7 separate regions of the Homo sapiens genome follow, and all the other regions are linked to region 1. Evidence: promoter capture Hi-C in 16 types of primary human blood cells and fetal thymus (Javierre and others, 2016). All regions are on one chromosome and are shown on one strand. The core of a region is centred on a gene start or on the middle of the fragment in contact, and the rest is flanking DNA. Distances in the headings are between cores, read along the strand shown.

Region 1 (3,518 bases), core at 492-2,991:
TTTGGATTTTATCCATTTGTTCTCCCTTGAATATTTTTAAATAGAAGAATGGTATTTATTTATTTATTTATTTATTTATTTATAGCCTAACTCATTCAAAAATTATTGAAGGAAAATAGGAAATGGCATTGATTGATGTTACGTTTTGGAAAGATCACTAACAGGGCATTCCTTTTTAAGTATTAGATTCAAGGGCCTGGCATCAAAGAAATCAGATGGGAGGCTCTTTCAGTAATCCTGTAAGAAATTATGAAAGCCTGAACTAATACAGCAGCAGTGGGGAGAGAGAGGCACAAGACCAGAGAGATATTTAGGGCTTGGTGACAAACTGAATGCAGGGACCGAGGGAGAGGGAGAAGTTGTGACTCTCATGTTTCTGGCTAGGGTAAGTATGTGGAGAGTGTCAACACACAGAGGAAAGAGTCCCTATAAGGAGAAAATATTAATAGGAGTTTTAGGAGTTGCATTCGATTGTGAGATATCCTAATGGAGACAGAAATCCAGTAGGCAGTTACATGTCCAAGTCTGGAGTTTAGGGGAGCCATCCTGATTGGAGATAATAATCTGGTAGTCATCTTTCCATAAATAGACGTTAAAAGCCAAAGTGTGAGTGAGAGAGTGGAGTGAAAGGACGGAAAGACTTTGGACAATCTTACCATATGTACCCGGAAAAGAGCCAAGAAAAAGACTGAAAGACAGAAAAGAGCAGTGTGTCTGACAGAGCTATTTTAACAAAATTCAGCGTTTACAACAGAGTTTAAGAGTAAACTGGCAGGCCAGGTGCGGTGGCTCATGCCCGTAATCCCAGCACTTTGGGAGGCTGAGGTGGGTGAATCACTTGAGGTTAGGAGTTCAAGACCAGACTGGCATACATGGTGAGACCAACCCCCTGCCCCCACTCCCAATCTCTACTAAAAATACAAAATTGAGCCAGCGTGGTGGCGTGTGCCTGTGATCCCAACTACTCAGGAGGCTGAGGCACGAGAATCACTTGAACCTAGGAGGCGGAGGTTGCAGTGACCCGAGATCGCGCCACTGCACTCCAGCCTGGGCGACAGTGCGAGACTCCGTCTCAAACAAACAAAGAAAGAGTAAACCGACAAATACTACATTCTCTCTCTCTACACTCTGGCCCACTCTTAACACAAAAAACTGTCCAGGATCAGGAGACTTTTTGTTCTCCTCATCTCCTCCTTCCAAAGTTCTCTGCCCACGTTCTACTGTCTCCCCAAAATCCTACCTACCCTTCAGGAACTGCTGGAATGGGAGCTTGGGAAGTTTCAGCAAACTCCTCTCTCCTCCTTTGTGGCCCCTTTATTCCCAAAGCTGTGTCCTCTCCCTATGACGAGTCCCTTGAGGGGCTGTATCTTACTCCTTGTGTCTCCAAGCACACATAATGTGTATTAGGGGAGGAAGCATTCGCCAGTGGAGCACAAAGCTGTTGCAGGTCTCTTACTGGTTCTCAGGCGCTTTCAGTGAAATTCCCGTTCCCTCACCGTCCACATCTGTAATTTGCAAGTCTTATCTACGATAACTGCTGTAAAGTTACACGGGGAAGCCCTTTCCCGACAAAAAAAACGAGTTCTGCAACAAGTCCGTCGGATTTTAGCAATGAAACCGGCGCCGTGCAGCCTCGCCGGCGAGTGCACCCTGGAACGCACAACTTAGCGGCACGCACCACAGCTCGAGCACCGCCCTTCCGGTTGGAGCCATTGCAAGCCCCCCCCACGCCCCGCCCCCCTCGCTAGGCGCTCGCCACGCCCATGCCTCCGTCGCTGCGCGGCCCACCCCGGATGTCAGCCCCCCGCGCCGACCAGAATCCGTGAACATGGCGAACGAGGTAGGGCCCGTTGAGCGGAGGGCCCTGAGTCCAAGGGAGGGAGTGCATGGCATGGGACTAGGCTGCTATCCTCGGGGGCGCGCGAGGCTCGGCGCCCAAGACGGGATCTGGCTCTTGGTTCTGAAACTGGGCCCCCAGCGAGCGGCTCAGAGGGGCAGAAAGAGAAGGAAGCTTTGTCTCGGCTCTTCAGTTGGGAAGCAGCTTTCTTTGCTGCTTCTGGGACAGTCGGAACGGGGTGGGGGGGTGGGAGAGCCGGAGAGTGGGGGGCAGGGGCTGGTCAGGTCGGTATCCCAGTGGAAATGGCTTAGGAGCGGCCACGCATTGCTTCTTACACGAAATTAAGTAACTCGCTCTGGGTCATTCTTGCAGCTTGCATACTTGGCAGAGCTGCAGCCAGATCCCGTGCTTCTAACTCCTAGGTTGCTTGTGTTGCATAATTGAGCCTACGCCTTAATTATTGTGCCTCCAAGGAGTGTATTTTGGAAAGACCCCTACGTCCCTTTCAGAAACATTTTCGAGCACTTAAATACCAAGAGATTTATATTCCCTCTAGTCCTCACGTAACAAACACCTCTGCGAGGTGTTATCCCCATCTTACCAAAAACTGAGGTTTGAGGTTGGTTGTGCTTGGTCACACCAACGATGGCGAGCTGGGATTCCGACCCAGGTCTGCTCCTCTATGACAAATTCATAAAATACAAATTAGACAGTAAAGAAAGGCAGAAATTACGAATAACATACTCAGTCTAAAGTTGCTGATTATTTTAATGTTTTGCAATTTTGGACATTTTCTAGTAAGACAAATGGCCTTAAACATATTGGAGTTTGAAAGAAATAAACTCTAAACAGTCTTTCAGACTTAAACTGGTAGTTGCTTTTCCTTATTACTGAGTGTCTTTATTCAGAGAAGGTGAAAGATTATAATTGTTACTATAGTTCAAATGTTGAAGTAGGGCCATTTCCCGCGGATTTAGAGTGGGGCTTTGTTTTGCTTAGAATTGTCAGTAAAAGGAAAAGGTTAGGCTCCATTAAGACATTTTTTAAAGGGGAGCAGGCCATCAAATTTAGTATTCTTGTTTCTTTGGATTCCTATGTTGCATAACTTAATTGTTAGTATTCTGAATCTGACTTGTGGAGTTGAAATTTATGGCACATTGAAATGAAAAAGGTTCTAATGCAGTGTCTGATTCTTTGTACTATGAGATTTAATATCTGCAATTTAATTTTAAAAACGATCATTTCCACATTTCCAACCTCACCAATTTACAGAGGCCATTTCCCTCCCCCCCCCCTCCCCCGCCAGTTCAGACGGAGTTTCGCTCTTTGTTTCCCAGGCTGGAGTGCGATAGCGCGATCTTGGGTCACTGCAACCTTTGCCTCCCGGGTTCAAGCGATTCTCCTGTCTCAGCCTCCCGAGTAGCTGGGATTACCGGCGCCCGTCACCATGCTCGGTATTTTTGTATTTTTAGTAGAGACGGGGTTTCGCCATAGTGGCCAGGCTGGTCTCCAACTCCTGACCTCAGGTGATCCGCCCATCTCGGCCTCCCAAAGTGCTGGGATTACAGGCGTGAGCCCCTGCACCCGGCCTACAGAGGCCATTTTTTATATCTCTATGTAGTTCACCTCTCCTTTCCCTCAACCGTTTGTTCTGTTGCTACCAATAACTACTAACTTATTT
Region 2 (3,518 bases), core at 541-3,040, 800 kb after region 1:
TCTGCAGAACATACAGTTTTGTTACATAAACATGTGCCATGGTGGTTTGCTGCACCCATCAACCTATCACTTACATAAGGCATTGTTTTACATTTTTAGAAATTTCATCCAGGCCCGGTGGCTCATGCCTGTAATCCCATCACTTTGGGAGGCCAAGGTGGAAGGATCACTTGAGGCTAGGAGTTTGATACCGGCCCGGGCAACAAAGTGAGTCCTCTTCTCTAAGAAAAATAAAAATAAAAAAATTAACTGCATATGGTGGCATGTGCCTGTATTCCCAGCTACTCAGGAGGCTGCAGTGGGAGGATCACTTAAGCCTGAGGAGTTTGAGTCTACAGGGAGCTAGGATTGCTCCACTGCACTCTAACCTGGGTGGCAGAGCAAGACCCTATCTCTTAAAAAAAAAAAAGGAAAAAAAAAAAATCTCCATAATGTGGTTCAACAGAAGATGACTGGACTCTCGTATCTTCTTCTGTATTCAATCTTGGTTAATATGCTGTTTTGGTTTGAATAGATGAAGAAAATTTAGTCTCAATATATACGTAGTTGGAAAACACGTGAGTATTTTAACAGCCTTTTCAGATAATTGCGGATATTCACTGATATACTAAAACTGGACACCTGGCAGTTCCTTAAAGGTTAGTTGCCCTGCTAAGCCGAAACAATATGAAAGCTTCCATTTTCCAGAAGAGGAAAGATTTATCTGATTTATCTGATTAAGGCTGAGGACTACTGGACATGTATGGCTCAACCCCTTCTGCATTCCTGTTATTTTAGAAACAACAAGAATTTTCTGTTCTACACCTGTGGCTGTCCAGGTGTACAGTGACAAAATGAGTAAATATGTATAATTCAGCAGTAAATTACTAGTAATCCCATTGTGACTCTACAAATAGAGGCCTTAACTCTAGACTTTATTAATTTTAAAGCAGATATTTTAAATTCTAGCAGACGACTCATATGCTTATATCTCCAGTGGTTCTAAGCTTGGGTAAGAAACAGAGGATATTATTTTTGTACTCCTTCAAACCATGACAGTAAATTTCAGTAGTAAATCCTTAGCATCCAAATTACTTTTTGTGTAATTCCAGAGAGCTGTATTTTACATTTCCTTAAAAGCACTGAAATTGTTCTAATGAAAATTTGTCAGCCTCTGGCTGGTAATGAGGCAGTAAGTAGAGATAGAAATGGAGAAGTATTAACAAATAAAATAAAATTTTTTCTTAAAACAATTTCTTTCCTATATATCAACATATGGTCTAGTTCGTCTTGTGAAATATGTGACATCTTCAAAGGGTTAAAGCAAAGTTGACTTGGTCATTAAAATTCTGAGTCTCCCACTTCTTACCCACTCAATCGCTCCTTAAAACCTGATCTAACCAAGTCCTCTAAAAGCCTATCAAAATTACTCTGTCAAAGGTTTTAAATGATATCTTGACAAAGCCAATGAATTTTTCTCAATCCTCTTGTTTGATATCTCTGTAGCAATAGACAGTTTTTCCATTTCTGAAACACCTCTTAACTTAGAAACATCAGTCTAAACACTTGTTTTTGGTCTTCTTCAATAGATCTTCCTTCTCTATCTGCCCCTTTAATATTAGTGTGACCCCAGTTGTGCACAGAGCCTCTTCTCTTCCTGAATAATATATGCATGCCCTTCAGAATATTAGGATGGTATGCTCTTTCCTTCTGTCCTCCCTTCTTTTATTCAGCTGGACAGACCACTTGCTTTATGTCCCTATCAATATAAAGAATTACCACATTTTAGGCCTTGATACATTTGGATAAAACCTGATGCAACTTCTGGTAACCGTGAACAGCTAACTATCATTCCTCGCATTTCTCAAAAGTCTCTGTTAAAGACAAACAGCTATACTTTCCCACTAAAACCTTCAAACTTTGCCAAGCCTTTTTTTTCTTTTATCTTAGGCACCAGAGGCTCTTTATGCTCCAACCTCTCTTCTATAAACCAGAAACAAATTATTTACTGGTCTGTAAGTACTTGCTGCAATGGAAGAGTTTTCATAAGACCTAAATTTTTAGCTATCAGTTCCTTTCTTAACATCAATCTAAGAAAAACTAATGAGGAAAGTGATGCTGTTTTAATATTTAAATAATTTGACCATAAAAGTACTTAAGATCATCACCAACAACAAAGAATACACTTGACTGTGAAGAAAGGACTGTCCCAAAGAACAAATCTCAAGACAGTGTCATGTTAAACTAGGAAGTCATGAAATTCTTTATGTTATTTGTGGTGGCATTTTTCAGTTTATCTTCCTCACAATATTATTCAGAAATGGTAGCTTTATTTTCAAGGTTATTGGATCTAAAACTTCATACTTTTAAATGTTAATCAATTCTATCACTTTACTATATGCCAGTAAGTAGATACATGGGTATATAGATAGATATGTGTTTGTTATCTTTGGACAATTATACCATTGCTGATGATAAAACCGACAGGAGACAAGTACACAAGAACTGCTAACTGAGCTTGTAAAAGTTCAAGACATTTTTACCTCACTTCAAATGTCACTCAATTTTTTTCTGTATCTATTATTTTCACATAACTATCTAGTAACAAAGCTTTACTTTGAAAGCATCACTATCCACATCAAATCCAAAAAAAAAAATATTTCTGTGCTAATGTGGTTTTCAAGTACCTAGAATACAGCCAATGCATGAATGGAAGAATTTCAAGTTTATCTCAAAATGAATGGCATTAAGTCAATTTGGGGCACCTGGCTTAGCAGCTGGAAATAATAGCAATCTCTCTTGAATATTATGTTTTACTTATCTAAAGGGTTTAGTATCTGACAGAATGAAGCTATTTTTAAAAGCTTCTCTAATGAAGTAGGAATAGTAGTTTCTGTTAGCATGTCAAGTGGAAAGGACTGTGTTTAAAAATTATAATATTTTCAGTTTTACTATGTTGTATTTTCAGTTTCCTACTTTTCTTTCTTTTTTTTTTTTTTTTTTTTTGTTTACCAGAGCTGGTCCTAAACCGATCAGAAACTTTTACAACTCACATTATGCCATCTCCCATTACTTTCTCACACAACATCATGTGTGTCAGTCCCACCACATTATTGGCTTTTTCCCAAGCACACTTTCATTTTCACAATTGTGAGAATTAAATTCTTTTCTAAAATTCCTTTCTGTGCATTTTCCACATCTAGCATGGCTACTTACTTGGCGAAGTCAACTAATATGCCAAGTCTTGCATGAAGCTTTCTGTATTCCTGCAGTCAGAGGAACCTTCCTTTTCTAGGCTCCCACATTTTGTTTATACCTTGATAAACATGAAAGTTTCTATTTTTATATAGATTCTTTAATGTTAAATTTATTCCAAAAGATTTTAGAATTTTGTGATTGCTGAGAATTAAATAAGTTGTCCCATTTTCATGGGTAGGTGACATATCTACAGTAAAAAAAGGGCTACCTTGTATAATTATCACATATTCAGTCACCATTCAAATTATCTTACTTCTTAGCAAGCTAAAAAAGTTTAAGCA
Region 3 (3,353 bases), core at 609-3,108, 770 kb before region 1:
AGAAGAAGAACGAAAGATGTTCTAGAGTAAACTTGCTATCTTCATCCTCAATCATTCCATTATGAGGACTATGTTTTATTGACTTTTAACTGCAGGCTACACCTATGCAGGGCTTTGTCAAAGAACAGTCAAGTCATTTTCCAGAATTTTGACTAATGAGCCATAAAAATGAACTCTTGAGTCAGGTGAATATTACAAATGGGTTAAAATGAGCAGGCAATTATGCTTCCAAGAAAAACTATCAAGATGAGAATTGAGTCTACATGACGTGTTCTCTTTTTTCTGTGGCTGGCATGAGCAAAACCACACTTCCTTACCTTGACCAGGCCTCCCTGTTTGGTGAGGTAACCTTCTTTGGTGCCCAGCTGAAAAAGAAAAGCACTGAGTGAAGACCAGAACTGTCACAACAGGACGTTTGTCCTTCCTTTCATGTCCTATTTTTAAATGAAGAATGTTTGCTTTTGATCTTTAAATTACTGTCTATCATTTTTCACCTAGGCACTTGAAAAGCTTCCATGTGTTGTGAGAGATTGTTTTCAGACTGGATCTACTGGCATCATTCTGTAGCTCCTAACTCCAGTTAGCAATTTGCAAACAATAAACGACATCATTTCACTTATAAAAGTCTGTGTTTGTCAAGGTGTGTCATGTGAAATCCAGCTGTTTGGATTGTTACAGGGTTATTAGCACATAAACACGCACACATCTACTGTCAATACGTTTGGGAGACTGGATTAAGAAAACTAAAAGGATGTTTTTACTTCAGGGCTTCCCAGAGTCTGTATTATGCTAATATACTTTGTAAATTTTTAAGAGGGAACCTTAGAAATAGCATTTTTACTATTTATTTTATCACATAATCCTCCTCCCCACCCCCACACTCTCTTGAGATCCATGTTCCAAAAAACAGACTGTCAGGAGCGTAGATTTATTTACACCTGATTTACCCAAAATGAATCTGAAATAAGAATGAGCCAGTTCTTTTAACTCATGTTGTCATTAATTCAAACGTAAAAATAATAGCACACACTTAGCTAACACCTACGAAATATAAGGGTGGAGAATTGTGTGAACAGAAATTTGCATAAGACAAGTAGCTTAACATCAAGAAATTTATCATTTCATAAATTCCACAAGAAATTCAATTCGTGGTAGAATATTTTGTTCAAATGTGATGTCATCATATGTCTTAGTAAGAAACAAAATTAACAAAAATTGGGAAGTGATTTGGTTGACACCAAGGTTCTTTCTATGGTAATTTCCAGAATATTTTTTTCCAAGGTGAATTTTCCCAACCAAATAAAAAGAGGAACAACCATCTCTACCACAATAAAAAGAGTTAAAGCAGGAAATAAGCAAACACTTCTTTTAAAATCTTATGATATAAAAGTAAGGATAAACTAACCAAATGTTCACTTAAATAATATTAATCAATATTGGTGAATTTGATATCTCATAATTGGTGTGATTTATTTTAACATTAAATAAATTGAATTGACTCAGTTGAATTCAGGTGTTATAGGAATGGCAAAAAGTAATTATTTTGGGCTGTTGCAGGTTAAAATCTGTAGAGGCAAAATAACTAGGAGTAAATTGTTGTATAAAAGATCCTGATAGAATTATTTACTAAAATCAAGCTAGGGAATAATCCCATCTTACCTCCACCCAAACAATGTACTATAAGTGTAGTATTCTTCTAAGGTTTTGATAGGTAAGCCAAAGGCTGCATGGGAAAGCAATGAGACTATTAATTTTATTCAGGGTCTCCAGATGTAAGAAAGTAAATAATTATAGAGCACATTTATCTTTAAAAATCTATGAACTGTAACAGAAAAGCTGTTTATAAGAGCCCCCATTGGGGTACCATCTAAATGTTCAAAAACAAAGGACTGTCCTTCCTGCCATCCTACTACCTACTTGCCTGCCAGCCTTAAATGAAGTCAGTAGCCAACACAGTTCAGGTGAAGCAAGGCAGGCATTGATGTGTGTGTGGAGGGCTTTCAAGCACCTTAGTACAGGGTGGTGGAGCCCAAGTAGGGCACAGGGAGCCTCTGTGTGGACACTGGCAGTGACAGTGGCAGCAGCAGCTGTGTGCGAGGCATTGAAGCCTGGCAGGGTGTGGAGGGCTTCTGCCTGAAGGGGTGGAGGTGGCAGCTACTGCACAGTTTCAGAGCCAAGTTGGGCTAGGTGGACATCTGTAGTGAGGGTGGGAGCAGCAGTGGCCTGGAACTGAGCATTGAAGCATGACTGGGTGGTTGGAGTGTCGGGGTAAGGGTTGAGTAGTAGAAACAGCAATGGGAGATTGCTTATATTCAATTGATCACCACATAAGTGTACTGAGGATGATAAGATCCATATTTTCTCACTGTGGGAGAAGGGAAAACACTAGAATGAACTTTGTGGTATTGGAAGCATTGTTGTGAACTCATGGATCGATGAATGAATCGACAGATAAATACAGATGTAAAAGTATATATGTGTACATATGTATATACATACATATTTTCCCAGCTCTGCTCACTGAGTGGGCTGGGAGAGTGACATCCTGATAACAATAAGCACATAGTACCTAGATGTCGATTTCTAGAGTACTATTCTGTGGAAAAAGAGCAGAGTTTCTTGGAGAAATAGCTGGTTCTAGAGCTGGGTACAAAGAAAGAACAAGATAAGTCTGGATCATCTTGCTATTCAGAAAGTAAGAAAGTTCTTAAAAGAATTTTGAGGCCAGGCCAGGCACGGAGGCTCACAACTATAATCCCAGCACTTTGGGAGGCTGAAGCATGAGCATTGCTTGCACCCAGGAGTTCGATACCAGCCTGGTTAAAATGGTGAAACCTTGACTCTACAAAAAAAAATAAAAAAATGAAAATACAAATATTAGCCAGGAGTGGTGGTACACACCTGTAGTCCCTGCTACTCAGGAGGCTGAGGAGGGAGAGTCACCTGAACCCAGGAGGTCGAGGCTTCATGAGCCGTGATCACACCACTGCACTCCAGCTTGGGAGACAGAGTGACGGAGTGACACACTGTCTCCAAAAAAAAAAAATTTTTTTTGAGGTCATATGAACACAGACACCACTTGAAAGGGCTCTTTCCCCGACTGGCCAAATCAGGGAAATTTTGAAGGATCAAAATAAATAATGATAGTCATGATTATAACCATTTGATATAAAAATGATTGAAAATTTTGAAGAATAAAAAGCTTTTCCTTACAGTAGAATGACAACCAATGAATGTAAAAAGGAATAAGAAAATCAGAGAGTCATCGTTTGGTAACAATCATAGTAATGATTAAAACAGCCAAGACACATCAGTAAATGCTAAAATTGGCAAGTAAAAATTTAATAAGTAAC
Region 4 (3,450 bases), core at 672-3,171, 970 kb after region 1:
GATAGAAATTATAAAAACAAACCGAGTAGAAATCTGGATTTGAAAATTACAATAATGGAAATGAAAAACTTTCTAGAGGAGCCCAAAAGAAAATTTGAATTGGCTGAAGAAAGAATCAGTTAACTTGAAGACATGTCAATTGATATTATGCAGTCTGATGAACAGAAAGAAAATAGGATGAAGAAGAGTATTCAGAGCCTCAGAGATCTAGGGGACACTGTCGAGTATACCAACATACACATAATGGGAATCCCAGAAGCGGAGGAGAAAGAGGAAGGAGAAAAGAGAATATTTGAAGAAATCATGGCTGAAAACATCCCAAATTTGATGAAAAAACATTACAGAAAGAAGAAGCTCAACAAACTCTAAGTAAGATTAATGCAAAGAGATGCACACCTAGACACATCACAGTCAAGCTGTTGAAAGCCAAAGACAAAAAGAAAATCTTGAGGGCAGCAAGAAAAAAGTGACATATCATATAGAAGGAATCCTCCAAAAGGTTAATAGAAATCATGAGGTCAGAGGGAGGGGGATGACTTATTCAAAGTGTTGAAAAAACAGACTGCCAATCAAGAATTCCAGAATCAGCAAAGCTATTCCTTGAAAATAAAGGAGAAATTAAGACATTTTCAGATAAATGGAAGCTGACAGAATTTGTTGCTGGCACACCCCCTAAAAGAAATACCAAATGGAGTCTTCAGGCTGAAATGAAATGTTATCAGACAATAACTCAAATTCACATAAATAATTAAAGAACAATGATAAAGGTAAATATATAAGCCAGTATTATTTAATTTTTGATTTTTAAGTTTTTAGAAGAATTCCTATTGATTATGGAACAAACTAGAAATAATACATTTTGTGTTTAAATACAGTAGTAGGCAGATATTTTAAGACTAATGGATTGTTTCATGCTATAAAACTTTTGAAGAACCAGATTAATTCTGGTAACATGAAAAGTAAGGATAATATAAGTTACATGTTTCCTTTTCTAACCATAAGAATTCCCATTTCTTTCTGGCCATGGGAGTTTTTGTCTCAAGAATATTTCATTCTCTCTCTCTATGACATACCTGGTCTTCTAGGCCTTGACTGTCCCATCATCCTATTAATAACAATGTGACAATTAATCTTCATTAAGATATTTAAGTATCTTAAATATTTGAGTAAGATATTCTTATGTGAACAATAGGTTCAATTCTGTAAAAACTCCAGTGAAATGGTCTTATGATTTGATATTAGGATATTCTCCCCAAGGTGACGGACAAGTTATGCAAAGAAGTGTAATGGAGCCAGACTTCCTGGTTATGTGTCCTGACTCTACCACTTAATAGTTATTAGTCCTTGGCCAAGTTACTTAATCTTTGTGCTCAGTTTCCTTACCTAAAATATCCTGAGAAAAATAACTATGGTCTAACATATTGGAATAAGTATTCTTCACAATTAGTCATAGATTCTTGGCTTTAGCTTAATAATTCCCTAATCACTCATAACTTACATCTCAAAATGTAATTCTTGCTTTAAGCTATTTTTTTTTTGTTTCAGAATAATGTGTCATCTATTAGAAGGCCACAATGATGCCTCCAAGCTTCCCTGCATGTATAAAATCCTTTCCCCACATGAATAAGCATTACTTAGACATATAAAACTTGATTACTTCCTGGCTAAATTATTATTTATAGAAATAAGGAAGAAGAAGAAGACATTTATTTGATGACCTAATTTATTTGATGGCCTAATTTAATAAGTATTGAATCAATACAACTTATTATTTATTTATTGGAATAAAAATCTAGATGTAATTTAAAAACATATAAAAACGTAGTTTTCTGTATCAGTTAAAGACATAGTTCATAATATTCAAGAAGATTCAGCAAAGTTTAATACAAACGGAATTGTGATATTTTTTGAAATCCTCATCTTGTATTTGAGAGAACTAGAGATAGCGTGGCAAAGCTCAGTAGCTGAAGGCTTTATTTTCTTCTGTTTCTCCTGCAGAAAAACACAGGTTCTTCACAAACTACTGCCAAATTGATACTGTAATAATGTTAATTCAAATCTTATCTGAATTTTCGATAATTCTGGGTAACTCTTTGCTTGCTTTTTGAAATAATATTTAATACTATATGTGGGTTTAGTTTCCAGAGGTGCATATTGATAGAAAATTAAGAAAATAATCCAATAGATGGGTAATTATTGTGATTCTTTCTTAACTGGTGAATCACATCTGCTGAAGCTGTCTAATAAAGCTTAAATACAGAATTAAGAGTTGTGTAAGACTCTAAGTGACAAATGTTAAACTTTAGCTAAATTTAATTTGTGAAGAGAAATTCTACAAAAAAGTTATTTTATATAACATTTTGAATGATAAAGTTTAGCTTCTTTCTTCTTTTAGAAGAGCCCAGGTAACTATTAGAAATCTATTTTTCAGAGGTGTATTTCACAAGCAAAGTTTGTGATTGGAATGATGATACTGACATATTTGCTAATGATAACATGCTGGGAACTACCTGTGTGCTGCCACACTGGAAAACAGTTCATTAGTGTTTGAATTATTGCACTTTGGGCCTTTTAATTCTTCACAAATTCTATTTCCATATTTAATTATGGAAAGACATGGGGGAAAGTTGCATAGCCCCATCTTCATTTATTTAATTGTCAGTGAGAGTGGCAGTTAGTAATTCTTCTTCAAATTATAATATAGCATTTACTTAAAATAATGCAGTTCCATGCTGAGTTTGCTTCAATTAAGTCATATTTTATTTGCTAATGATTTTCAAAATTGACAGTGACCTTGAAGTTGGTATTGCCAACACTTCTTGACATAAAAGAAACTGTAATTTAGAGATAAGAGTGCATCAATTTATCCTTTGTTTTCTGTCTGTATTTTTAAAAGCCTTTTAAATTTCTGATTCAACATCTACCTGAGTACCGCAGAGGTTAATGAGTTAAGTACTTGTCAATTCATGTGGTTTAAATGAAATGGATATTATTGTAGACACACACACACACACACACACACACAAAAAAAAAAAAATGGATATTATTGTGGGGTCTTAAATTGTGTGTGTGTGCACATGTACACATACATAATCTTTCCTCCTACTGGATTACTATTAGAATTGTGAAACAATTGAATCATAAAATCTCAATAATGTAAATTCACTTAAAGAAAGCTTCTTCAATAGAATCCTGCTCAAGGTCTTGAATCCTTGCATTAAAAGAGTTAATACAAAACCTTAACATGATTTTAGGCTATAAAAATGTGATGTAAAAGATGACATCAAAATGCTGTATTTTAAAATACTGATTTTTTGACAAATGTATAGGCTATAGTAAATCAACATATTAGATATGTTCTTGTGTGAAATATATACAATGTCTAAAATATCCAGCATGACTATATTATATTAGAATGTAGTTTCACATTTTGTACTTCACTGTCTGTTA
Region 5 (3,687 bases), core at 24-2,523, 760 kb before region 1:
CAAATCCATTTAAGGCCACACTGTACCATGGCAACAATGTACTGTTATTGTGGGACCAGTTTCAAAAGATAGCAAGGTGCATGGAAAGCATCTATGCTTTAGAACCAGATTAGCCCAGATTCCAATCTCAGCCCTGATGTTTACCAGCAGTGAAAACTTGGGCAAGTGACTTAAAACCTCTGAGTTTTCCTTTCCTCATCTGAAAATAGGACCGTTGTATGCATTATTGTGGGTGGCTGAGATGAAATAAGTTGATGTAGGTGAATGCCTGGAACCTAGCAAACACTCTAAAAATGTTGGCTTAATTCCCTTCCTCAGCTGCTTTTTCCTTTTTCGAATAAAACTCATCTATAAACTGAGAACATTTTGTATTTTTGGCAAACATCCAAGGAAGTTTGGAAAAATTCTAAGTTGTCACTAGTTGTTTTCTGAAGAACCACCCAATTCTCAAATTAAAATTAATTTTAACCACATTATTTAAAAATATCACCTGGGTGGTGTCACAAAACAAAATAATAATAGCGGTAGCTGTCGTCAAAAGATTGGGAATCCCCATATCAAAACAAAAAGAGAAATGGAGATTTGACATTTACCAAAAAACCAGATGAGATCTTTAAAATTGGGAACCAATTATTATAAAGGGTAAGCACAAACATAGAACTTGACTTGTATTATATTTTTTCATGCCTGTTAGGTGATTACAGTCACAATACAATGTAATAAATTATACATGGCAATTTCATGTTAAGAATTATTGAAACATAAACAAAAGGTAATGGTAAAAGTAATTTTTTGTTCTAATCATATTTAGACATTTAAGCATAAAGATAAATGCCGTCTACATTTTCAAGACTATATATATGAAACTTAGCTAATTACAAGAGGCTACGACAAAATTAATAATGGACCAAACATATTTATACTAATAAAAAAGTTTCTCAAATTTTCAAGTCTATTTGAGTTTAGTTTAGAGTTCATGCACAGACATGAATATGTTTTATTTGATATCCTACTATTGAGACAGAAAAACTCCAACCGGCCTGCCCACTGAGGTGAAGCCTTAGGAAGTTCGTGTCCTTTGCAGTGGGGAGGAGCCTGGCCCCTCCTCTTCCTGTGAGGAACATAGAATTCAAACTGCTGGGCAGGAAGCGCTCTAGCTTCCCTGTTTCCCTCTTTTCTTTCTTTTCATCCAATAAAACCCTGCTTCACTCACCCTTCAAACCGTCTGCGAGCCTAAATTTTTGTGGCCGTGGGATGGAGAGGGACCCGATCTTTAGCTGAACTAAGGAAAAGTCCTGCAACACTATCACAAATGAAAGGCAAATTCTGAATTTAATCATCACTGAGCATACATGCAACACAAAATATCATTTCAAATTATGTTTTTATAAACTTTGAAAGTTAAAATTGTCACAAGTTTGCTAGTTTTGATGTTGCCATGCAAAAAACTGCAATGCAGGCATTGGAAATGGGGCATCCAGCATGACATATTGTGGAAATGATCAGTACTTATTTTTTCAGGTCCTGGGACATAGCAGGAAGCAAAGCTGACAAAAGTCCCTTTCTTCATGGAGTTCACACACTAGTGTGGAAAAAAAGGTATTTTTTTAAAAAACATAAGTGAATTATAGATGTCAGAAGGTAAAAGGGCCATTGAGAAAAATAAAGCAAGAGAGTACATTGTATATCTCTATCATGTACTTGGGAAATTATTAGGTTTTGAGAATTGGAAGTATCTTAAGAGTGTTTATGGGTATTGATAAAAAGAAATTAGAGTGAACAGAAACTTTAATGGAGATTAGAGAGATGAAATAGAGATTATGGCAAGGGAAAGGGAAATTATCATAAAATACTCTTAAAGTTGTCAAGAGGCTTAGATGTTGCTTAGGAAATCCTTGCTTTTCAGATTAGCAAACAGAAATCCTAAAAGTGTAAAGAGTAGGGAATAGAAAAAAAAGATATCTTAAAATAGCATTAATCCCCTTAGGTCAACACTTTTATCTATTTTGAGTGCAAAAATGTTCTTACGACCCAAAATCAAATATTCTGGGTTTCACTCTACTGAAGGCATTATATATAACTGCAAGGCAAAAGTGTAAAGTTTTGGCTATTTGGATATCATTTCTGTTGCCCTCAAAGGTAATACCACTTGTGCCAGTAGATAAATGTATTATAAGAAAGTCACTCTTTAATAAACTTACCCTCTAGACCCTGCAGGGTGAGGCTGGGCCTGGGTGGGGTCTGGCTGAGAGCAGTGGCCTGAAATATCCAATTCTAGTCCTTGTCATTCTGGTAATCTGAAGTTGAGAGCCCTGGGAGGGGCTTGTCCATTGTGTGGACAAATGCTTTTCCTGGTGATGTTAATCAAACATAAGCTATAAGAAATATCTGTACTTCTGGCGTGAACCCGGGAGGCGGAGCTTGCAGTGGGCCGAGATCGCGCCACTGCACTCCAGCCTGGGCGACAGAGCGAGACTCCGTCTCAAAAAAAAAAAAAAAAAGAAAGAAATATCTGTACTTCATCTGAAGGTGAACATGAAATCGTTAGCCTGAAGATCTTCTGATCACTGGGAGCCAATACTAGGAGCCCATGCTTAAATGAACAAGAAGAAAAGGCCTATTTTTAGAAGGTGGCATGTCAGTTTCCATTCACCATTCTTTATAGTCTGCAATGCTGACTCCGTAACCTTGAGGAATTTCTGGGCTTACAAGTCATCATGACTTGAGCACATTATCTTGTTTCCCAAGGCCTATTACTCCCAGAGGGGCAAGATTTGAACACTCATCTGTCATGGGTTTTGCCTGTTGTTCCTAGCCCTGATGGCTTTCCCTTCATCTGGCTGGGACAGATAAGAGGAATAAAGCTGGTGGACTCTAACTCAAGGGCTGGAAGCCAGCAAGTCAAGTGCATATCCATCAGCACGAGGGGCCGAAAGCAGGAATTCAAACAGCAGCAAATTCTTCATTGGATAATGAATAGAACAGAGGAGAGGCAGTGGAGAGGATAAAAATATTAGGTTCCTGAGTTATATTGTAATAAATAAAATGGCAATTGTAGTCAAGATAATAATACAGCAGGTTTGAGTTTTAGAGAAACTACTGTAGAAGTCTGGATGACAAATCCTTACAATCCCTAATGCATCAATCATAAGGCTTCTTTACTCAGAACAGTGTATTTACAAGGAAGCTTATCATTGTCCCAAATGCAATATCAAAACATCTTTATTTTGGCGCATCCTTAGGTGATCCTCTTGCCTGATGATTGGATCAGTGCCAGAAAGGTTCAACCAGAAAGCACTGCCTTCACTTTGATCTTAAATGTTTTGAAATCTGCCAGTAGGCAGAATATGTATCTTTTCCCTAACTTGGAGAAGGCCCAGGAAGGAGCACAGGGAATGATCAAAGAAGTTGAAAATAGAGTCTAGGAGAAGAATTTAAAAGAAGGGAGCTGTCTTTGGTTGGAAGAAAAAGAGAAAGTAGAAAAATGACAACTCTAGTGGCTTTGAAGACTACAAAGAGTTCTTACTCATAGTTATCCATGTATTCATTTATTTATTCACCCAAAATGCCCTGCAGTGGGCCAGGACCTGGCGGATATGAAATACAAAAATTAGAGGTACACAAAACAAAACCCTGGCTTTAAAAATCTCCTCTACATGGCCAGTGACCAATAACTGAACAAAATCA
Region 6 (3,682 bases), core at 683-3,182, 840 kb before region 1:
TGGTATATTTTCTTTCTCTTTTAAGCATTATCCTGTTGTATTTATGAGTCTAGTTTCTTCTAGTTTAGTCTTTTTTTAATTGATTTTTTAAAATGTCTTATTTTTTATTGAGTTTTATCACATAAGTTTTTGAGAGATAATTTTTTCTTTTCTTTTTTTTTTTTTTTTTTTTTTTTTTTTTTGAGACAGTCTTGCTCTGTCACCCAGGCTGGAGTGCAGTGGCTCAATCTCAGCTCATTGCAACCTCCACCTCCAGGTTCAAGCAATTCTCCCACCTCAGCCTCCCGGGTAGCTGGGATTACAGGCACTGGTCATCACGCCCGGCTAATTTTTGTATTTTTGTAGAGACAGGATTTCACCATGTTGACCAGGCTAGTCTTGAACTCCTGACCTCAGGTGATCTACCCGCCTCAGCCTCCCAAAGTGCTGGGATTACAGATGTGATCCACTGCATCTGGCCAGTAATTTCTGATGTTGTAATTTTGATATATATTGTTCTTTTATATCATGCATTATTTTTTAGTCTTTTCAGCTTGTTTTGAAGTATTAAAGTGTTCATCTGTTTTGTTAGCAAGTGTTTATGGTGTGTATTTATCGTCTTCAGAGGTTTAATTCATACTCATCCTTTTTTTCTTATAATTTTGTATCAGATTTGACTTCTGTCATTTTCTTTTACTCATTTTTATGTGCTGGTAAATACGTAGAGATCCTTCTGTTTTTGTGTAATGTTTAAAAATGTCACCTTGCTAAATGAGATCTTCTCATTCCTTTATCCTTCCCTACTTTTATCTGGAGTTTCTCTTTTCATTTTTTTTGTTTTCCCTGTCCTCTTCAGTTTGGGTCCTGTTCCCAGGAGTTTCTTCTTGGTGTGGCTTTGTTGTGGAAGAGAGCTTTGATTGATTATTTTTGAGGGCATGTAGTGACTAGAGTCTTCCATGCCTTTAAAGCTTTATTGTGGACCCGTGCACTTGTGTACTATTGTAGTAGGCAAAACTCATTCCTTTTTACACACTTTTCCCAGTTTTGCCTGTTGTGCTATATAGAGAGTCCCTGTTGGTTATTTTTATTTTTAATTTTTTTTTATGTTCTGTGGGCTGGCAAATGCCCCTGTATTATACTCCACTGCCCACACAGATCTTGTGGCAGTTGGTGGTTTTTCCCCACCTTATATTTTGGGATTTTGTGCATGAGGTTTTCTCTGACTTTATGAGGGAATTCGGAGAGATTTAAAATTTAAGCTGATGTCATAGCCTTTTTTCCAGAATTCCCACAAAAGTTTTTATGTCTAAATGTTGTGAACCACTACCTCCCTTAGACCATGCTGGTTTCCGTTCATTGCGATTGCAGACTAAATACAGACTATAGTTTAAAAATTGGCCAGGCGTGTGGCTCACGCCTGTAATCCCAGCACTTTGGGAGGCCAAGGCGGGTGGATCACTTGAAGTCAGGAGTTTGAGACCAGCCTGGCCAATATGGTGAAACCCCATCTCTACTAAAAAAAAAATCAAAAAATTAGCCAGGTGTCGGGGGCAGGTACCTGTAGTCCCAGTTACTCAGGAGGCTGAGACAGAATTGCCTGAACCCAGGAGACGGAGGTTGCAGTGAACCGAGATTATACCACTGCACTCCAGCCTGGCTCAGTCTCAAAAAAAAAAAAAAAAAAAAAAAGACTGTTTATGTTATATTTCTCATTAATAACTGATTAGATTGGTACCTAGTTGAGTGTGTGTATATATATACATACTTTATTGAGACATTATTGAGACATAATATTGAGAGTGTGTGTATATATATATACATGCTTTATTGAGACATAATTCACATACCATACAATTCACTCATTTCAATTATACCATTCAGTGTTTCTTTAGTATTTTAACAGAGCTGCACAACAATTATGGAAATCAATTTTAGAACATTTCCTTACTTCAAAAAGACACCTCATTACTCTTTAGCAGTCACTCCTCATTTATTCCCAGTTCCACCCTCCCCTGCACCCCCAGCTTTGGCAATGATTCATTTACTTTCTGTCCCTGTAGATTTGCCTGTTCTGTACATTTCATATAAACGGAACCGTATAGTATACCATCTTTTGTGACTGGAGTCTTTCACTTAGCATAATGTTTTCAAGGTCCATTCATGTTGTAGCACATATCAGTACTCTGTTTCTTTTTATTTTTGAAAATATTTCATTGTCTGGATATATCATTATCCATCAGTTGATAGATATTTGGTTGTTTGTATCTTTTTGCCATTGTGAATAATGTTGCAATGAACATTTGTGAATCAGTTTTTGTATATCATTTCTCTTGGATATGTACTTAGGAATGGGATTGTTGAGTCAAATGGTAACTATGTTTACTTTTTTAAAGAACTACTAGATGATTTTTTCAAAGTAGCAGCATCATTTTACATTCTCACTAGAAACTTATTAGGGTACCAATTTCTCCCCATCCTTCTCAACATTTGCTATTGTTCATCTTTTGGATGTGGGTTTGAAGTGATACTTCTCTTTGTGGTTTTGATTTTTATTTCCCTAATAGCTAATGATGTTGAGCAACTTTTTTTTTGTGCTTATTGACCATTTGTTTGTTTGTTTTGGAGAAATTGTCTATTCAGATCCTTCACCCGTTTTTTTAACCGGTGTTTTTGATCTTTTTATTACTGAACTGTAAGAATTCTTTATATATTCTGGATACTTTTTTTTGAAAATCAGGTATGTTATTTGTAAACATTTTTTTTTCCATTCTGTTGATTATAGCCTTTGAAGTACAAAAGTTTTAAATTTTGATAAAGCCCATTTTCTCTGTTTTCCTTTTATCACATTTACTTTTGTTTCTGTAGTTAAGAATATTTTGCCTAAATCAACATCATGAAGATTTACTTCTGTATTTTCTTCTAAGAGTTTTAAAGCTTTAGCTCTTACACTTAGATTCATGATCCATTCCGAGTTAATTTTTGTGTCCAGTGTGATGGAGTCCAAATTTATTCTTTTGCATGTGGATGGCTAGTTGTTGACCCACAAGTTCTGATATTTGGTGTTTTAATTTCTATTCAGTTCTAAGTATTTTGTAATTTCTATTGTAGTTATTTCTTTGATACACAAGCTGTCTAGATTTTTTTATTTTGTTTTTTCTTTTCCAACCCATTTATGATTTTTTTAGTTACATTTTTTGTAACTGATTTCTCATATAACTGTATTGTGCTCATAGATTGTGGTATATATATATATATATATGGTAATAATTCTCTGAGATTTGAAAAGGACCACTCTATGGTCTAGCGATAATGTGGGCCTGTGAGAAAGAGATATTCACTAGTTGGGTATAATGTTATATCTCTTAGATAAAGCTTATAAATTTGATGTCTAAGTCATCTGTATCCTCAATGATTTCTTAAAATTTACCTTATATCAGTTACTGATTGAAATGTGTTAAAATCCATAATGATGATGGATTTCCCTTTTTCTCCATTAGTTTTGTTAATGTTTTTTATGTTTAGTTTTAACTTTTATTATGGAAAGTTTTAAGCACACACAAAAGGAGAAAAAAATAGTATAATCACTCCCAATCACTCACCTGTCTTGAACCATTATGAGTATATATGGCCAACCTTATTTCATTCACATTCTTTCTACCCCTACTTTTATGTTTCTCCTCCCCAGATTATTAAAAAGCAAATC
Region 7 (3,625 bases), core at 707-3,206, 800 kb before region 1:
GAAAATTATGATGTAATTTTATGGCTAAAATGTGTTTCCCATTTCTAGGTATGCTAATCCATGCATCTTCTCAATAAACTTTTAACAACACTTTTATGATGTAGGTTCTATATTAGCCCTATTCAACAAATAATGAAATAAGCTTAGCGAAAAAAGGTTGGTTAACTTACTCCAAGTTGCGTGACTAGTAAACATCCAAATCAGACAGAGAAAGATAAAACACAGCAAGAAAGGTTATGAATGATAACTGAAGTTCCTTAAAATTTGGATAGGACAGGATCTAGAAAACAGTGGAAGGCCTATTATTACAACATTATTTTTTAATGCTCTCTTTCAGGACCTAAAGCGATTCTTGTATAAAAAGTTACCAAGGTAAGAAATTTTTAATTTGTTATTGAATAAATTCTATATGCCATATGTTAATTTTATGAAGCATTTTGTCTGTATTTTCCATGTTGTGAAGTATCTCTGAGATTTCCTTTAATATGAATATTTTTTGCCAGCCTCACGTCCTCTGGAAAATTTTCGTCACAACCGCTTTCCTCATTTATGTCAATAAGTTTGCCTTCACTGAGTTCTCTGTGTATCTAGAGCGATAGTGTCAGCATTCCCTTGGTCATCTGTTTCTTCTATAATTCTTTACTTTCTATTTGAAATTCAGCATTTCTATTTGAAATTTCAGCATTATTACTTTTCATTTCTTTGCTGTATTTCGTCTTTGTTGGCCAGTTTCCTCTTTTTATTATCTCTTTTTCTAAATGTCACATACTTTATCATTGGGAGACAAGGAGGTACAAAACTACATGCTTTGCTATCTCTGCATGAGCTGCATAACAGATGCACAGTGACCAACCATCAACATACTTTGAAAGAAATGATGTGGCTGGTTACTGATGACAGTGTGCATCTGTTAATTACATAATTATTTATGTAGTGATTTGTGGACTAAAGAGTTAGAAAAGTTTATACTTTACGTAGTTATTGAGGTATTATGCCATGCTAACTAAAATTTGACCTGTGCTCTTCTGCAGGGAGTGGTATTACTTAACCATAGTAACTAAAATGTGCATATTGGAACTATGCAAAATGAGGGCTTTCTGTGTTTTTCTGTAGTTACCTTAGCGTAATGAAAGGGCGCTCAAATTGGGACGGAGAGATACCCCACTACGCTGGTGATATGATGAAATAGTTAATAGTACATAGTTAATTCACTTAGAAGTCTTAGTGATTTACAGTCCTCTTTTGAGTGTTAGCATCTCTTATTGAAGAAACAGCAAAATTGCATTCAATGTTCTTAAGTTATAAACCGACCAGAAAGATACTCATTAGTCACCTGGAGATCTAATAAAGCAATAATTGATTCTAATTACATCATCTGTGATTATAAGCAATAAAAATGTTTCAGACAATGGGGATCTCATTTTAACTATTAAGTGTGCTCTCAAAATCATAATAGCGTGTGACACTGGATATGATGAAGCTGTCTGTGTAAAGGAATTAGAGAATAATACCAAAAGTATTTATTATATTACTGAGTAGTTCTAATGTTGATCAAAAATAGTTGGAAAGTAAATGCTTGCTTCTTCTTTGAATTTAGATGTCTCTTATCTTTTAACAAAAGGGGAAATATCAGGTTGTTGTGCTTATCCAAGAAATAAATTCAGTTAAAGGATATTTGTTAAAAGCTTTATGAAAATCTTTCATAATGGCAGGAAAGGTATTAGTACTGTCAGTTTTTTTTTTAATAATGAAAAAAAGCCAGTTCAACTCATTATATCATTTATTGAAAATAGGCTTATTGCATCCCAGAACAGTAATAATGAAGAAATAATAATGTTTTGAACATTTATGAAGAATAGTAGAATATACGCTTTGATTTGTTGCTAGATGTATGGGTTTGGATGCAGGCATCCTGCTTCAGAGCCATGGATTCATGCTTTTAACTGTTGTACCTCAGTGCCTCTCAGTAACAAAGTCAGCCAGCTACGGATACTAATGGAATGTGTGTTTTTGTGCGTTTTTTGAATTCTCTGCAAAATATCGTTCTTGTATTTGCAATTTAAAATCTGGTTGTGACCCAAAGCAGTCTCAGGCTTTAATAATCCCACTTTGTATGTTTTAAAACAACCAAATATTTCATAATTATGTGTATAAAACTAAATCCGATGTCTTTGATTAGTAATGCAACATTTGTTTTTAGAAAAAAATGGTTGTTTTAGTAAGCTTAAGGTTTAGATTTCTTCAGAATATTTCACAAAATTTAATTCATTTCTTCTAAAAGTGTAGTATCTCTTAATGAGCCAGTTATTTTTAATTATTAGTAAATTCTATTTATATTACTCTTTGCGCATTGTATGTAGAATTGAAAACAGCTTTTATATTTGTGACCTGATTTCTAAAATTATATACTTAAGAGTGTAAGTAATTTTTCTACTTTCTTGATTCATTTCTCTGTGAAGTCCATCAAAAAGAAAGTCCTTTTATTTTCTTTGGAGCATTAGTTGTATTTAAAGTAATTTCCATGGAAATTTAAAAAAAGAAGCTACCTGTGGTGGCACTAATTTTTCTAAACATTTTTGTGGTCCTCTTTTTACCTGCTTTTTAATTTATTTTGGGGGTAAGTAGTACATTCACAGAGTTCAGATTCAAGACTTAACTGAAGAACATAGAGTGAGAAGCTGCCCATCCTTCCTCTCCAGCCACATGCACAGTTTCCCCTCAAAGAGGCACCCACCATTACCTACAGAGATATTTTATGTACCTATGAGCAGACATGTATATACACGTATTTATACACACAACATACACATATGCCTGCATATTTTGGTACATAATTTATTGCTTCTTCTATACACTGTTCTAAACTGTGTATTTTTTCACTTAAGAATGTAACTTTGAGAGTAATCTTTCCTGGTACATAGAGAACTTCCTCTTTCTCATGGCTGCAGAGTATTCCAGAGTATTCCTTTGTAGGTGTATATCATAACTTACCTTGTCCTTCTTGATGGACAGTTGGATTTGTAATGCTTTACTGTTTCAAATGATGTTGCTTTTGGTAACTGCACAAAATAATTGGCTTATGTACAAATATCTGTAGTATATGTTTTATATAACCTAGTTTTTAACTTAGAAGAATATATTTATTTTATGTATTAATCTTTTTGTTGTTGTTGTTGAGACAGACTCTCGTTCTGTCACCCAGGCTGGGAGTGCAGTGGCGCAATCTTGGCTCACTGCAACCCAGGTTCAATCGATTCTTATGCCTCAGTCTCCCAAGTAGCTGGGATTACAGACAAGCACCACCACACCCAGCTAATTTTTGTGTTTTTGGCTGAGACGGGGTTTCATCATGTTGGCCAGGCTGGTCTCAAACTCCTGACCTCAGGTGATCTGCCCACCTTGGCCTCCCAAATTGCTGGGATTACAGGCGTCAGCCACTGTGCCCGGCCTATGTTATGTATTAATCTTAGAGATATATTTTAATCTATAAATAAGTTTAGGATTGAATGATTAGGAAATCATGCCAATAATAGGATAAAAATAGTATAAAAGTCATTTATAAAGTTATTTTATTCTTATTTTTAATGTAAGGAAGACAAATGATTTTGTTTGTAACATTTTCCAT

The links. The method cuts DNA at HindIII sites, captures the fragments that hold promoters and counts their contacts. A CHiCAGO score of 5 or more calls a contact.
Region 2: a contact is called between a fragment that was not itself captured here and the fragment with the promoter of ADH5 in region 1, in 7 of 17 cell types (total B cells, fetal thymus, naive B cells and 4 more). The highest score is 7.1, in total B cells.
Region 3: a contact is called between a fragment that was not itself captured here and the fragment with the promoter of ADH5 in region 1, in 2 of 17 cell types (M0 macrophages and monocytes). The highest score is 6.5, in M0 macrophages.
Region 4: a contact is called between a fragment that was not itself captured here and the fragment with the promoter of ADH5 in region 1, in 1 of 17 cell types (activated CD4 T cells). The highest score is 5.3, in activated CD4 T cells.
Region 5: a fragment that was not itself captured here is called in contact with the fragment with the promoter of ADH5 in region 1 in 3 of 17 cell types (total CD4 T cells, non-activated CD4 T cells and activated CD4 T cells); the score reaches 10.1 in total CD4 T cells.
Region 6: a fragment that was not itself captured here is called in contact with the fragment with the promoter of ADH5 in region 1 in 2 of 17 cell types (naive CD8 T cells and fetal thymus); the score reaches 5.8 in naive CD8 T cells.
Region 7: a contact is called between a fragment that was not itself captured here and the fragment with the promoter of ADH5 in region 1, in 12 of 17 cell types (total CD8 T cells, non-activated CD4 T cells, activated CD4 T cells and 9 more). The highest score is 13.5, in total CD8 T cells.

What each region holds. Positions count from the first base shown.
Region 1 is chr4:99,087,011-99,090,528 of GRCh38, reverse strand. ADH5 (alcohol dehydrogenase 5 (class III), chi polypeptide) reads left to right here and starts at 1,741. Exons shown (of 9, transcript NM_000671.4): 1 at 1,741-1,840. The coding sequence starts at 1,829. LOC100507053 (a long non-coding RNA gene) reads right to left here and starts at 1,672. Exons shown (of 10, transcript NR_037884.1): 1 at 1,245-1,672. RefSeq lists a silencer at 1,709-1,758 and a promoter at 543-1,796. The HindIII fragment of the contact is 7,789 bases long and covers 1-2,013 here.
Region 2 is chr4:98,289,022-98,292,539 of GRCh38, reverse strand. The region is part of intron 1 of RAP1GDS1 (Rap1 GTPase-GDP dissociation stimulator 1); the gene reads right to left. Among named protein-coding and RNA genes, the nearest start is that of RAP1GDS1, 29 kb to the right of the region's middle. The HindIII fragment of the contact is 1,603 bases long and covers 989-2,591 here.
Region 3 is chr4:99,858,590-99,861,942 of GRCh38, reverse strand. DAPP1 (dual adaptor of phosphotyrosine and 3-phosphoinositides 1) reads right to left here. Exons shown (of 9, transcript NM_014395.3): 5 at 318-365. Among named protein-coding and RNA genes, the nearest start is that of LAMTOR3, 34 kb to the left of the region's middle. The HindIII fragment of the contact is 2,692 bases long and covers 513-3,204 here.
Region 4 is chr4:98,114,341-98,117,790 of GRCh38, reverse strand. All of the region lies in intron 3 of STPG2 (sperm tail PG-rich repeat containing 2), which reads left to right. Among named protein-coding and RNA genes, the nearest start is that of STPG2, 27 kb to the left of the region's middle. The HindIII fragment of the contact is 661 bases long and covers 1,591-2,251 here.
Region 5 is chr4:99,841,667-99,845,353 of GRCh38, reverse strand. The region is part of intron 3 of DAPP1 (dual adaptor of phosphotyrosine and 3-phosphoinositides 1); the gene reads right to left. Among named protein-coding and RNA genes, the nearest start is that of DAPP1, 27 kb to the right of the region's middle. The HindIII fragment of the contact is 3,832 bases long and covers 1-3,189 here.
Region 6 is chr4:99,931,290-99,934,971 of GRCh38, reverse strand. The region is part of intron 1 of DNAJB14 (DnaJ heat shock protein family (Hsp40) member B14); the gene reads left to right. Among named protein-coding and RNA genes, the nearest start is that of DNAJB14, 13 kb to the left of the region's middle. The HindIII fragment of the contact is 1,966 bases long and covers 950-2,915 here.
Region 7 is chr4:99,888,747-99,892,371 of GRCh38, reverse strand. LAMTOR3 (late endosomal/lysosomal adaptor, MAPK and MTOR activator 3) reads left to right here. Exons shown (of 7, transcript NM_021970.4): 3 at 338-372. Among named protein-coding and RNA genes, the nearest start is that of LAMTOR3, 3.9 kb to the left of the region's middle. The HindIII fragment of the contact is 538 bases long and covers 1,688-2,225 here.